4 separate regions of the Homo sapiens genome follow, and regions 1, 2 and 3 are each linked to region 4. Evidence: promoter capture Hi-C in human tissues and cell types (Jung and others, 2019). All regions are on one chromosome and are shown on one strand. Each heading gives the region's core, a stretch centred on a gene start or on the middle of the fragment in contact. The rest is flanking DNA. Distances are from core to core; before and after follow the strand shown. Region 1 has its middle 13 kb from the start of CYP27A1. Region 2 overlaps CYP27A1 (cytochrome P450 family 27 subfamily A member 1). Region 3 overlaps TTLL4 (tubulin tyrosine ligase like 4). Region 4 holds the start of WNT6 (Wnt family member 6).

The links. The method cuts DNA at HindIII sites, captures the fragments that hold promoters and counts their contacts. A contact is called where the count stands out against the background at its distance.
Region 1: a contact is called between a fragment that was not itself captured here and the fragment with the promoter of WNT6 in region 4, in 6 of the 25 tissues and cell types used here (H1 embryonic stem cells, bladder, mesenchymal stem cells and 3 more).
Region 2: a contact is called between a fragment that was not itself captured here and the fragment with the promoter of WNT6 in region 4, in 4 of the 25 tissues and cell types used here (H1 embryonic stem cells, IMR-90 fibroblasts, liver and 1 more).
Region 3: a contact is called between a fragment that was not itself captured here and the fragment with the promoter of WNT6 in region 4, in 3 of the 25 tissues and cell types used here (H1 embryonic stem cells, liver and spleen).

Annotation. Positions count from the first base shown.
Region 1 is chr2:218,767,230-218,770,251 of GRCh38, forward strand. No RefSeq gene overlaps it. Among named protein-coding and RNA genes, the nearest start is that of CYP27A1, 13 kb to the right of the region's middle. The HindIII fragment of the contact is 7,453 bases long and covers 1-3,022 here.
Region 2 is chr2:218,793,569-218,796,653 of GRCh38, forward strand. The region is part of intron 1 of CYP27A1 (cytochrome P450 family 27 subfamily A member 1); the gene reads left to right. Among named protein-coding and RNA genes, the nearest start is that of CYP27A1, 13 kb to the left of the region's middle. The HindIII fragment of the contact is 6,304 bases long and covers 1-3,085 here.
Region 3 is chr2:218,735,179-218,738,160 of GRCh38, forward strand. It overlaps TTLL4 (tubulin tyrosine ligase like 4), which reads left to right. Exons shown (of 20, transcript NM_014640.5): 3 at 2,401-2,982. The coding sequence starts at 2,499. Among named protein-coding and RNA genes, the nearest start is that of TTLL4, 26 kb to the left of the region's middle. The HindIII fragment of the contact is 3,995 bases long and covers 1-2,982 here.
Region 4 is chr2:218,858,342-218,861,577 of GRCh38, forward strand. It overlaps WNT6 (Wnt family member 6), which reads left to right and starts at 1,464. Exons shown (of 4, transcript NM_006522.4): 1 at 1,464-1,776. The coding sequence starts at 1,697. The HindIII fragment of the contact is 31,874 bases long and covers 1-3,236 here.

The DNA.
Region 1 (3,022 bases), core at 151-2,650, 91 kb before region 4:
CCTTAAGGAATCGCCACACTGTCTTCCACAATGGTTGAACTAATTTACAGTCCCACCAACAGTGGAAAAGTGTTCCTATTTCCCCACATCCTCTCCAGCATCTGTTGTTTCCTGACTTTTTAATGATCGCCATTCTAACTGGTGTGAGATGGTATCTCATTGTGGTTTTGATTTGCATTTCTCTGATGACTGTGATGATGAGCATTTATTCATGTGTCGGCTGCAGAAATGTCTTCTTTTGAGAAGTGTCTTTTCATATCCTTTGCCCACTTTTTGATGGGGTTTTTTTTTTCTTGTAAATTTGCTTAAGTTCTTTGTAGATTCTGGATATTAGCCCTTTGTCAGATGGGTAGATTACAAAAATTTTCTCCCATTTTGTAGGTTGCCTGTTCACTCTGATGGTAGTTTCTTTTGCTGTGCAGAAGCTCTTTAGTTTAATTATATCCCATTTGTCTATTTTGCCTTTTGTTGCCATTGCTTTTGGTGTTTTAGTCATGAAGTCCTTGCGCATGCCTATGTCCTGAATGGTATTGCCTAGGTTTTCTTCTAGGGTTTTAATGGTTTTAGGTCTAACATTTAAGTCTTTAATCCATCTTGAATTAATTTTTGTATAAGGTGTAAGGAAGGGATCCAGTTTCAGCTTTCTACATGTGGCTAAGCCTGTTTTCCCAGCACCATTTATTAAATAGGGAATCCTTTCCCCATTTCTTGTTTTTATCAGGTTTGTCAAAAATCAGATGGTTGTAGATGTGTGGTGTTATTTCTGAGGCCTCTGTTCTGTTCCATTGGTCTATATATCTGTTTTGGAACCAGTACCATGATGTTTTGGTTACTGTAGCCTTGTAGTATAGTTTGAAGTCAAGTAGCATGATGCCTCCAGCTTTGTTCTTTTTGCTTAGGATTGCCTTGGCAATGCGGGCTCTTTTTTGGTTCCATATGAACTTTAAAGTAGTTTTTTCCAATTCTGTGAAGAAAGTCATTGGTAGCTTGATGGGAATGGCATTAAGTCTATAAATTACCTTGGGCAGTATGGCCATTTTCATGATATTCTTCCTATCCATGATCATGGAATGTTCTTCCATTTGCTTGTGTCCTCTTTTATTTCCTTGAGCAGTGGTTTTTAGTTCTCCTTGAAGAGGTCCTTCACATCCCTTGTAAGTTGGATTCCTAGGTATTTTATTCTCTTTGAAGCAATTGTGAATGGGAGTTCACTCATGATTTGGCTCTCTGTTTGTCTGTTATTGGTATATAGGAATGCTTGTGACTTTTGCACATTGATTTTGTATCCTGAGACTTTGCTGAAGTTGCTTATCATCTTAAGGAGATTTTGGGCTGAGACAAGGGGTTTTCTATATATACAATCATGTCATCTGCAAACAGGGACAATTTGACTTCCTCTTTTCGTAATTGAATACCCCTTATTTCTTTCTCTTGTCTGATTGCCCTGGCCAGAACTTCCAACACTATGTTGAATAGGAGTGGTGAGAGAGGTCATCCCTGTCCTGTGCCAGTTTTCAAAGGAAATGCTTCCAGTTTTTGCCCATTCAAAATGACATTGGCATGGGTTTGTCATAAATAGCTCTTATTATTTTGAGATACGTTCCATCAGTACTTAGTTTATTGAGAGTTTTTAGTACAAAGGGCTGTTGAATTTTGTCAAAGGCCTTTTCTGCATCTGTTGAGATAATCATGTGGTTTTTGTCTTTGGTTCTGTTTATGCGATGGATTATGTTTATTGATTTGTGTATGTTGAACCAGCCTTGCATCCCAGGATGAAGCAGGCTTGATTATGGTGGATAAGCTTTTTGATGTGCTGCTGGATTCATTTTGCCAGTATTTTATTGAGGATTTTTGCATCGACGCTCACCAGGGATATTGGTCTAAAATTCTCTTTTTTTGTTGTGTCTCTGCCAGGCTTTGGTATCAGGATGATGTTGGCCTCATAAAATGAGTTAGGGAGGAGTCCCTCTTTTTCTATTGATTGGAATGGTTTCAGAAGGAATGGTACCAGCTCCTCTTTGTACCTCTGGTAGAATTTGGCTGTAAATCCATCTGGCCCTGGACTTTTTTTGGTTGGTAGGCTATTAATTATTGCCTCAATTTCAGAGCCTGTTATTGGTCTATTCAGAGATTTAACTTTTTCCTGGTTTAGTCTTGGGAGGGTGTATGTGTCCAGGAATTTATCCATTTCTTTTAGATTTTCTAGTTTATTTGCGTAGAGGAATTTATAGTATTCTCTGATGGTAGTTTGTATTTCTGTGGGATCGGTGTTGATATCCCCTTTATCATTTTTTATTGCACCTGTTTGATTCCTCTCTCTTTTTTTCTTTATTAGTCTTGCTAGCGGTCTATCAATTTTGTTGATTCTTTCAAAAAACCAGCTCCTGGATTCATTGATTTTTTGAAGGGTTTTTTGTGTCTCTATCTCCTTCAGTTCTGCTCTGATCTTAGTGATTTCTTGCCTTCTGCTAGCTTTTGAATGTGTTTGCTCTTGCTTCCCTAGTTCGTTTAATTGTGATGTTAAGATGTTGATTTTAGATCTTTCCTGCTTTCTCTTGTGGGCATTTAGTGCTATAAATTTCCCTCCACACACTGCTTTAAATGTGTCCGAGAGATTCTTGTACATTGTGTCTTTGTTCTCATTGGTTTCAAAGAACATCTTTATTTCTGCCTTCATTTCGTTATTTACCCAGTAGTTATTCAGGAGCAGGTTGTTCAGTTTCCATGTAGTTTTGTGGTTTTGAGTGAGTTTCTTAATCCTGAGTTCTAGTTTGATTGCACTGTGGTCTGAGAGACAGTTTATTGTGATTTCTGTTCTTTTACATTTACTGAGGAGTGCTTTATTTCCAATTATGTGGTCAATTTTAGAATAAGTGCTATGTGGTGAGAAGAATGTATATTCTGTTGATTTGGGGTGGAGAGTTCTGCAGATGTCTATTAGGTCTGCTTGGTGCAGAGCTGAGTTCAAGTCCTGGATATCCTTGTTAACTCTCTGTCTTGTTGATCTGTCTAATATTGACAG
Region 2 (3,085 bases), core at 182-2,681, 65 kb before region 4:
AGAGAAATATTTCACTTTTGTATTAGTATATTATCATATTAAAACTAATTTTAATAAAACTTCATAAATACATTTATCAAATTTGTCATCTTTTAAACCACACATTTCCATAAACCTTTTGTTTCACATTTTCCCCAAGTTTCTCTTTCTTTTTTTTTTTTTTTGAGACATATTCTCACTTTTTCACCCAGGCTGGAGTGCAGTTGCACCATCTCGGCCCACTGCAACCTCCGCCCCCAGGTTCAAGCAATTCTCATGCCTCAGACTCCCAAGTAGCTGGGATTATAGGTATGCGCCACCATGCTTGGCTAATTTTTCGTATTTTAGTAGAGACAGAGTTTTGCCATGTTGGCCAGGCTGTTGTAGGACTTTCTTCTTAGTTCAATTAAAAATGGGGTCCTTGTCACACAACCAGGAAAGATTAGGCTCGCGGACACATAGAAGGGTGAGAAAAATGGAATTTATTGGGTGAAAAGGAAAAAAATTCAGTAAAGCTAGAGAGGTGCCTGTTAACAGGCCCCCATCTCACAGATTGAATCCCCAGGTTACCACCCTGGTACGGGAGAGGACAAGCTCCTCCCTCTGCAAACGGGTAAACCTCCCGAGGCTCCACCCCAGTGCGCGGACCAGTCGGAGTTTCTCCAGGGACCTCTTTTTACTTGGCTGTCTCATTCCCCACTCTAAAGAAGTACTTCTAACTGCCATTAGAATAAGGATTGGGATAAGGATGAAGATTGATCTTAACTGCTTCCTGCTGACAGCGGGCATAGTTTTGGGAAAATGGCAGTCATATCTCCCTCAGAGGCCTAAGGGTCCCCGGCAAAACGGGCCATTGTCAGAGGCTCTGGTTGCATGACCATTTGGAGTTTGATGGCCTGAAGGTGAGAAGAGACAAACCAGGTTATTAGAAAACATGTATCAAAAGGAGAAAAGGGCGGGTAAGATCAGCTCAAAAATCCCAAGGCCTTTTACCAGTTTGCCCAGGGAGAGGGAGGCCAAAATCCTGACTGGTTAAAAAAAACTTTACCCTTTTGCCGGCGTGTTGGGCTTCTGGGTTCCCTTCCCTTGAGCCCAATCCTGAACCAGCCAGTTTAAGGTTTGGGAAATTAACTTTTCCCAGTTTGGAGGATGCATCTGAGGGGAGTGTCCTGTAGTACAGAGCCACAATTACCTATCAGTGAAGAGAGGACAGAGGAGGAGAAAAGAAAAAAGAAGGCTCCTTTTCAAAGGGGTCCTAGGGGTTCAGGATGCATTTGAAAGGGTACAGACTGAAGAAGAATGGCTACTCATCTAGAAAAGAGAGGAGCAGACATCTCTGGTTCCCTTCTCTTCCTAGCAAATATCTGGGGTACATGAAGAAGAGAAGGAAGAGTATTCTCTTTCCCTCTTCCATCCTTGCATCCCTGAATCCTGACAACTGCGACAGGGTGCCACCCATGGGTGTCAAAGCGGCCTGAACCCATGAAGCAGGGAGGGCCTAGAGAATAGGAATTATCCACTCTCACCTATGTCTCTATTCCCACTAGTGTCAGTAGCCTTGGAGTTCCCTAGACCTCATTTATGCCATGGATACTAGCATGACTTTATCCATGAAATGAGAGGCTTGGCTTAATCAGCAGAAATTAGCCATGCTCACCTGTGCTGTGCCTTTTAACCTCTGTTATCATCTGCCTCTGGATCCTGTAGATCCAGTTTTCTTTCCTAGGGCTTTGACCCGAAGCTTGGAATTGAGTTTGGGACAAAATTGTGTCTCAGGGGGTGTTGCATGGACTTCTTATCATAAGCCAAATGCTAAGGTGAAACTGTGGAATCGAGTCCTCCTGCAACAAGGGAGAGAAAGGGATGTCTTGTGACACACCCAGATAACTGGTGGCTATGGTTATGCTTGCTAAGACTTGGGTGCATGGTGCTTGGTTTTGGTTAGCTCCCTTGGTCTTCCTTTCCCAAAAAGGAAACCTCCAAGTGATGGGCATCCTACTTATTCCTGTCACCTGACAGGATTTGCAGGATAATTGCTCAGAACCAGAATATTGACCCAGATTTTTACATTATCCATCTGAGCTGCAGCCAAAGATTGCTGGTTGGTTCACAGGAGCAGGCAGGGTTAGTCTAAAATGTAGGCAAAAACTTAAGAACAATGAATGAGTTTAGAATTTAATTACAAATGTATAAGTTTTGAAACATAATTTCTCTCTCTCCAGTCCTCATTTTTGTTAAAAAAAATCATAATAGGACTGAGTTGTTTGCAAAGTAGACTTTAGTCTTATACTTGGCCTGATTATTTGCATAAAGTACAGCAAGAATAATTATTTCTACATAGGCCTTTTAGATTGGCTTTGATGGAACTCTGTTCCAAAAGGAAGCTCAGATAAGACCTTTTAAAGCTGAGCCCAGCCATGGGTTTGTATCCTTAAATACCTGTGAGTTGGGTGATCCTCTCCTTTAAGGTCCCAAGATAAACTCGGAGCTCCTGGGCCTGTTAGAAAGTGACATTCTTTACTGACCACGGGTCAGGAACCCTGTACAGGGACTGTGTAGTCGAGGGTATAAGGCCAGTTTCTTTTCCAAAAGGGGCTTTTATTGGCTTGGCAAGTCGAGCTTGACTCCTTAAAGGGAAGCATACCTTTCTAGTCAAAGCCTTGGTAAAACAACAGTTTCTCCAATTGCATCCTGTTGCAAAAGAAAAATGGATTCTTATTGCACTGATGCAAACAACTATATTGCCATAAATTAAGAATACTCTGCTGGGTGCAGTGGCTCACGCCTGTAATCCCAGCACTTTGGGGGGCTGAGGCGGATGGATCACCTGAGGTTAGGAGTTCGAGACTAGCCTGGCCAACATGGTGAAACCCCCGTCTCTACTAAAAATACAAAAATTAGCCAGGCGTGGTGGTACACACCTATAGTTCCAGCTACTTGGGAAGCTGAGGCAGGAGAATCACTTGAACCCGGGAGGCAGAGGTTGTAGTGAGCCGAGATCACACCACTGCACTCCAGCCTGGGCAACAGAGCAAGACTCTGTCTCAAAAACAAACAAACAAACAAAAAAACACAACTCACAGATAGTTTCCAAATTCTAGAGGAA
Region 3 (2,982 bases), core at 171-2,670, 120 kb before region 4:
TTAGTTCTTCCTTGGCCATTACACTGTTAATCAGAATACAAGGTACTCTCCCCATTTTTGCATTTTAAATATAACTTAAGCGAAAAAACCATCTCTCCTAGGGCTGGGTTCAGTGGCTCAGGCTTGTAATCCCAGTTTATTGGGAGGCTGAGAGAGGAGGATCGCTTGAGGCCAGGAGTCGAGACCAGCCTGGGCAGCATAGTGAGATACCGCCACTCCCTATCTTAATAAAAAAATTTAAAAAAATCAACTGTGTGTGGTGATGCATGCCTGTGGTCCCAGCTATTTGGGAGGCTGAAGGGGGAGGATCATTTGAGTCCAGGAGTCTGAGGCTGCAGTGAGCCATGTTTGTGCCACTGCATTCCAGTTTGGGTGACAGAGCAAGACCCTCAAAACAAAACAAAACCTCTCTGCAAATTCCTTCCCTCTAGCTACTCTGAAAACACACTTGATGAGAATGTCAGGATTCCATTCAGAATTATCCCAGACAAATGACTCCTTTTTTTTTTTTTGAGACAGAGTCTCACTCTGTCACCCAGGCTGGAGTGCGATGGCGCGATCTCGGCTCACTGCAACCTCCGCCTCCCGAGGTCAAGCGATTCTCCTGCCTCAGGCTCCCAAGTAGCTGGGATTACAGGCACCCTCCTCCGTGCATGGCTAATTTTTGTATTTTTAGTAGAGAGCGTTTCACCATGCTGGCCAGGCTGGTCTTGAACTCCTGACCTCGTGATCCACCTGCCTTGGCCTCCCAAAGTGCTGGGATTACAGATGTAGCCACCGTGCCCAGCCTTTTTTTTTTTTTTTTTTTTTTTGTGAGACAGGGTCTCACTCTGTCACCCAGGCTGGAGAGCAGTGGTGCTATCTTGGTTTGCTGCAACTTCCACCTTCCATGCTCAAGCGTTTTTCATACCTCAGCTTCCCAGGTAGCTGGGACCACAGGCATGCGCCACCATACCTGGCTGATTTTTGTATTTTTTGTAGAGACGGGGTTTTGCGATGTTGCCCAGTATGGTCTCAAACTCCTGAGCTCAAGTGATCTGCCTGCCTCAGCCTCCTAAAGTGCTGGGATTACAGGTGTGAGCCATTGCACCTGGCCACGAATGACTTTTTACAGTTTTTGTTATTTCCCCCAGATGCTGCCATGAAAGCAGGCCCACCTTTCCTTACTGGAGAATATTTTGTGAATTTGATTTAGAAAGTAAGTGACCATGCTGAACAGTTTGAGACCCAGAAGGCTGGCTTACAGGTTTTGTATTAAAGGAAACACTGATTGAGAAGATGCAAAAGAGACAGGCTCTTCCTCCCTGAGATCAGCCCAAACTTAAGCCTGGGCTTTGGAGTAAAGAAAGCTTCTGTCCTCTTCTTACTCCCTGAACTCTCCTGTCCCAGTATGGCTGCTGGAAATAAAGTCACTTTAAGTAAAAATAATGCTGGTGTTTAGTTCAATTTCCTTTCTTCTTTTTCCCACCAACACACAGGATGGAATTTAAATCTGTATAGTTAGCAGAGATGAAATTGCTGTCTCAGCTCCAGAATAAACTCCGGGATCAGCAAGGGAATTCTCTTCTCCTGTCTGAACTTGTCCTATTTAACCATGAAAAGCAGACTAAATCAGAGGCAGCTGAGTTGATTTAGGGAGCAGTAGATGTAAAATGAGTTTTTCAGATCGTCTTTTTTTTTTTTTTTTCTGAGATGGGGTCTCACTCTGTTGCCCATGCTGGAGTACAGTGACACCAGCTCAGCTCACTGCAACCTCTGCCTCCCAGGCTCAAGCGATCCTCCCACCTCAGCCTCCCCAGTAGCTGGGACTTCAGGTGCACGCCACAATGCCTAGCTAATTTTTGGTAGTGACGGGGTTTTGCCATGTTGGGCAGGTTGGTCTTGAACTCCTGGGCTCAAGCTGGGATTACAGGTGTGAGCTGCCTCACCTGGACTCAAATAATCTTTAATCTTTCAGAATTGATTTATGAGAAGGAAGATACTGAGTCCTCTCTCTCACTTCAGATTTGCTTTATTCCTAGCCACACTGGTTTTGGGTGAGGGAAGGTAGCCCCTCATGGAAAGTTGTGGGCGGTGAGACAGAAAGATGTATTTTTTGTTGGAGAGAGAGGAAAGCTTTCTGAGTGACAGAGTGGGGACTCATAAGCAGCTTCACAGTGGTGGTGGCACCTCAGTGTTTTAGTCCGTAATGAAGCCAGCTTTGATCCTATGAGGGCAGTAGGAAGATCATTGAAAACTCCCTGGAAATCTGGTGTTCTTCTCCCAGTGCCCCAAATGACGACCAAGACTGGTTGCCCAAAAATGCTGAAGTGGGACTGTACTGCTTACCTGAGGACCACTGTAGCATGGTGTCCGTTCTCCTGGCACTGTAACATTTCCTATCATTTCTCTCCACTTCAGACTGACAGACTTCAAGGATGCAGCTGCTACTACCGGAGGTGTGTGGCACCTTACCTCAGCAAGGCCATGAGACCGTGTGGCCATGATGTGGGCCCCTCATGGCCTCAGCAGGAACACAGCACTATAGTATTGGCCTCCGCCAGAAAAACAGCTTCAAGCAGAGTGGTCCCTCAGGCACAGTACCTGCCACGCCACCTGAGAAACCCTCGGAGGGCAGAGTCTGGCCTCAGGCCCATCAGCAAGTGAAGCCAATCTGGAAGCTGGAAAAGAAGCAAGTGGAGACACTGTCAGCAGGGTTGGGCCCAGGCCTCTTGGGCGTCCCACCCCAGCCAGCATATTTCTTTTGCCCCAGCACTTTATGTAGCTCTGGGACCACGGCTGTCATTGCAGGCCACAGCAGTTCCTGTTACCTACACTCTCTCCCGGACTTGTTCAACAGCACCCTGCTATACCGCCGCTCCAGCTATAGGCAAAAACCGTACCAGCAACTGGAGTCTTTCTGCTTGCGTTCGAGCCCGTCAGAAAAAAGCCCTTTTTCTCTCCCTCAAAAGAGCCTCCCTGTCAGTCTCACTGCCAACAAGG
Region 4 (3,236 bases), core at 214-2,713:
AAGTCCACACTTCTCCAGTTCTCTCACCTCTGTCTGCTCATTCCTTCCCCCATCAGCCTCCTCCCCTGGGGTCACATCCCTTGGCCCCTTGGCCTCATCTTGATCTACTTGTCCCCCCTCTCTGGGTGACTCAGGATCTTGTCTTCTCTCTCTGCTCACCAAGGTTGTTTGGAAGTGACCTCAGTCATCACTCTCTTGGAAGCGACCTCAGTCCCCACATTCAGGTCCCCCTCTCTACCAACAACCAGGAGCTTTCTTCTGGGCGCCTGACGTTTCTGCCATAGGGACTCGATCTGTCCTCCCCACTCCAGGACAGCTTTAAAGGTTGATGGTTGCTCTTGATGGTATGGCAGGGAGAATGTCCCACACCACCTGTCCCTTGGCACCCCGGGGCACGTCGGGGACGGGAGGGGCAGGGGCTGCTGCCCACTGCCAGCCGAATGGCATGATGAATGGAGCTGTCCCTCTTCCCCACGGAGCCTTTGATCTCCCCCTCGTGGGGAGGGGGCCAGGGGCATCAAAGACATTTTTGTGGCATTAGAAAATCTGATAAACGCCATCTCACCTGCAGCTGGCTCTCCCACCCCTTCTACCCGGGCCAGGTTGGGGGAGGAACTCGAGGCAGGGACTCTTGGACACGCGAGGCCGGGCTAAAGCGAATTCTGACCCCTCGATCTCTTGAAAGTCTGCGACCTCCATTCTCCCGCTCGCTTACAAGTGCCAGCGCTTGCGCGCACGCCCTGGAGCGGCTACTCTTGCCCTCTCATTTCCCCCACCTCCCCGCCCTAGAACGCGGGCTTGAGAGGTGGGATGGCTGGGGGAGCGAGAGCGGAGGCCCAGGGCTTCCTCCCTTCTTCAAGGAGAGGCTGACGAAGGGGCATGAGGCATCGAACAGGGACACGGAAAGAGATGACCCCTCCAGCATCCGCCTGTCGGGCGGTCCAGTTTGACAACCCTCGCCGAAGCACCCCGCGCCCCAGGCCAACTTCCTCTCTTGCCTCCGCGCCAGCATCTCCCTCCGCACCGCCCCCCGCCCCAAACTCCCTCATTCCTGGGAAGTTTTCTCTCTTTACAGTCAACAAACCTGTCAAACGTCTCCCTTCCAGCCCGTCCCCCATTCCTCAGCTCCTCTTTCTCCCCCCTCACCCCTCTCTACTCTTCTTCCCAGCCCTTCCTTGCCCCCGACTCCAGGCGGCCGCGAGCGGCGGGGGGCTCCAAGTCCGAGAGAGGCGAGGCGAGGGGGCGAAGCGGGCGGGTCCCACAGCCCGAAGCGCGCTGGGGCCCCGCCCCGGCACCCCGCTCCCGCCCTCCGCTGCGCTCCGCGCCAGCCGCCCCGGGGCGCACGGCTCGCTCCCGAGAGTCCCGCTGCCTGACTGTCGCAACTGCCACCTCCCTCCGGCCCCCTGCCCCCCGCCCCCGCCTCGGCCCCGCTCCCCTCCCACCTCCGCCCCCGGCTCTGATTTCTTCTCCCGAGCGAGCTCCGCAGGAGACACAGGCGCTGGCTGCCCCGTCCGCTCTCCGCCTCCGCCGCGCCCTCCTCGCCCGGGATGGGCCCCCCCGCCGCCGCCGGATCCCTCGCCTCCCGGCCGCCGCCGTTGCGCTCGCCGCGCTCGCACTGAAGCCCGGGCCCTCGCGCGCCGCGGTTCGCCCCGCAGCCTCGCCCCCTGCCCACCCGGGCGGCCGTAGGGCGGTCACGATGCTGCCGCCCTTACCCTCCCGCCTCGGGCTGCTGCTGCTGCTGCTCCTGTGCCCGGCGCACGTCGGCGGACTGTGGTGGTGAGTCCGGCTGTCCTGGCGCGGCTCTGGACCCTGGAGGGTGGGGACCCCGGGACCCAGGACAGACTGGGGTGTTCCGCAGCCTCCCGGCTCTACCTGCTCTCCGAGCCCAGCTTTCTGGCCTCGGCCGGGGGCGTTTCTGAACTCCACTTCGACGTTCCTAACCCTCGGGAACATTCTATTGTGTTTCCTCCTCCCGGGTTCTCTCCCACCCCCCGCCAAGTTATGCGCTCACCCAGCTCACCAAGGAACAGGCGAGTGGGTAGGAAAGATCTTTCGGGAAGACACATATCCGAGGAAAAGAATGTGTGAGGAGGGCCCTGGATTCAGGGTATGGGGCTGGATTTGGAGAAGACAGGAACAAGGTGGGAAGCCACAAGGCAGAGAGGGCCACACAGCTGCCCCTTCCCCGCCCTGCTTTGCCTACCAACCCACCGGCTTCTCTCTGGGCTCCTGAGGAGTGGGCCTTAGTGACGACAGAGGGAATATAAAGGGGAAAGTGAGTCAGGACCCTGGTTTTCTCTACCTCGTCCTCCCCAAGCAAGGAAAAGGAGGAGCGGAAGGAACCGGACCCAGGCGCCCGGCCCTTCCAGACCTGGGGGTCATGAATGAAAAAATATGTGCAGCCCGGGAGATACGGGACCGGGAGGGGTCCTGCGGGAAGGGAGAGGGGCCTGGCCAGCCAAGGGAAGGGGGCGTCTTCCCAGGCTTGGCCCTAGCTAGAAGGGACACCTAGGCAGCGAAGGTTGCGGGAGCTTCGAGCCTTGGGGGTGGGGGTGGGGCCGGGGCGGGGAAGGAGGGTGCCCGACCGGGACGGCTCAGAGATCCAGATCCAAAGGACTTTTTTCCCCCTAGGTCTCCAGAGCCGCAAACCCTCGCCCGGAATAGCTCAGTGTTTAGAGAGGAGAGACTTGGACAATAACGCTGACGGGTTAGCCAATCCTAAGAAGGCAGGGTCGTGTCTATTTGCATATTGCCATGTGATTGGCTGGATGCCGACCCTCCGCTCCTCCCTCGCCCCCCAGATTTGGAAGAGAGGCAGATCCCCGTGCTCTGGAGAGATAGGGAGTAGGATGCCCACACAGGGAGTGGCGGGCAGCAATCCCTACTCCGTGATGCGGAGAGCCGTCCGACGCTAGTGTCACGGAAAGGGCGAACCGAGGACGACCCAGGTCCTATCTAGGGAACATATGCCCTTTGATCCGGCTTAGTATAATGCAGTGGCAGCTTTGAAGCAGATAGATCTAAGATCTAAACATTATGTTTGTGATCTTGGGCTAGTCACTTCCTTTCCCTACCTCTCAGTCTTAACTGGAAATAGGATAACAGTCTCCCTACCTGGCAGGCTTGCTGGGAAGGTTAGGTGGGAGGACGTGTAGAATAATAGGACCTTAGGAGGTACTCAGTATGTACAGCGCCCCCCTCACAACCCAGCTTCTCCTGGCCAGGGTCCCCAGGAG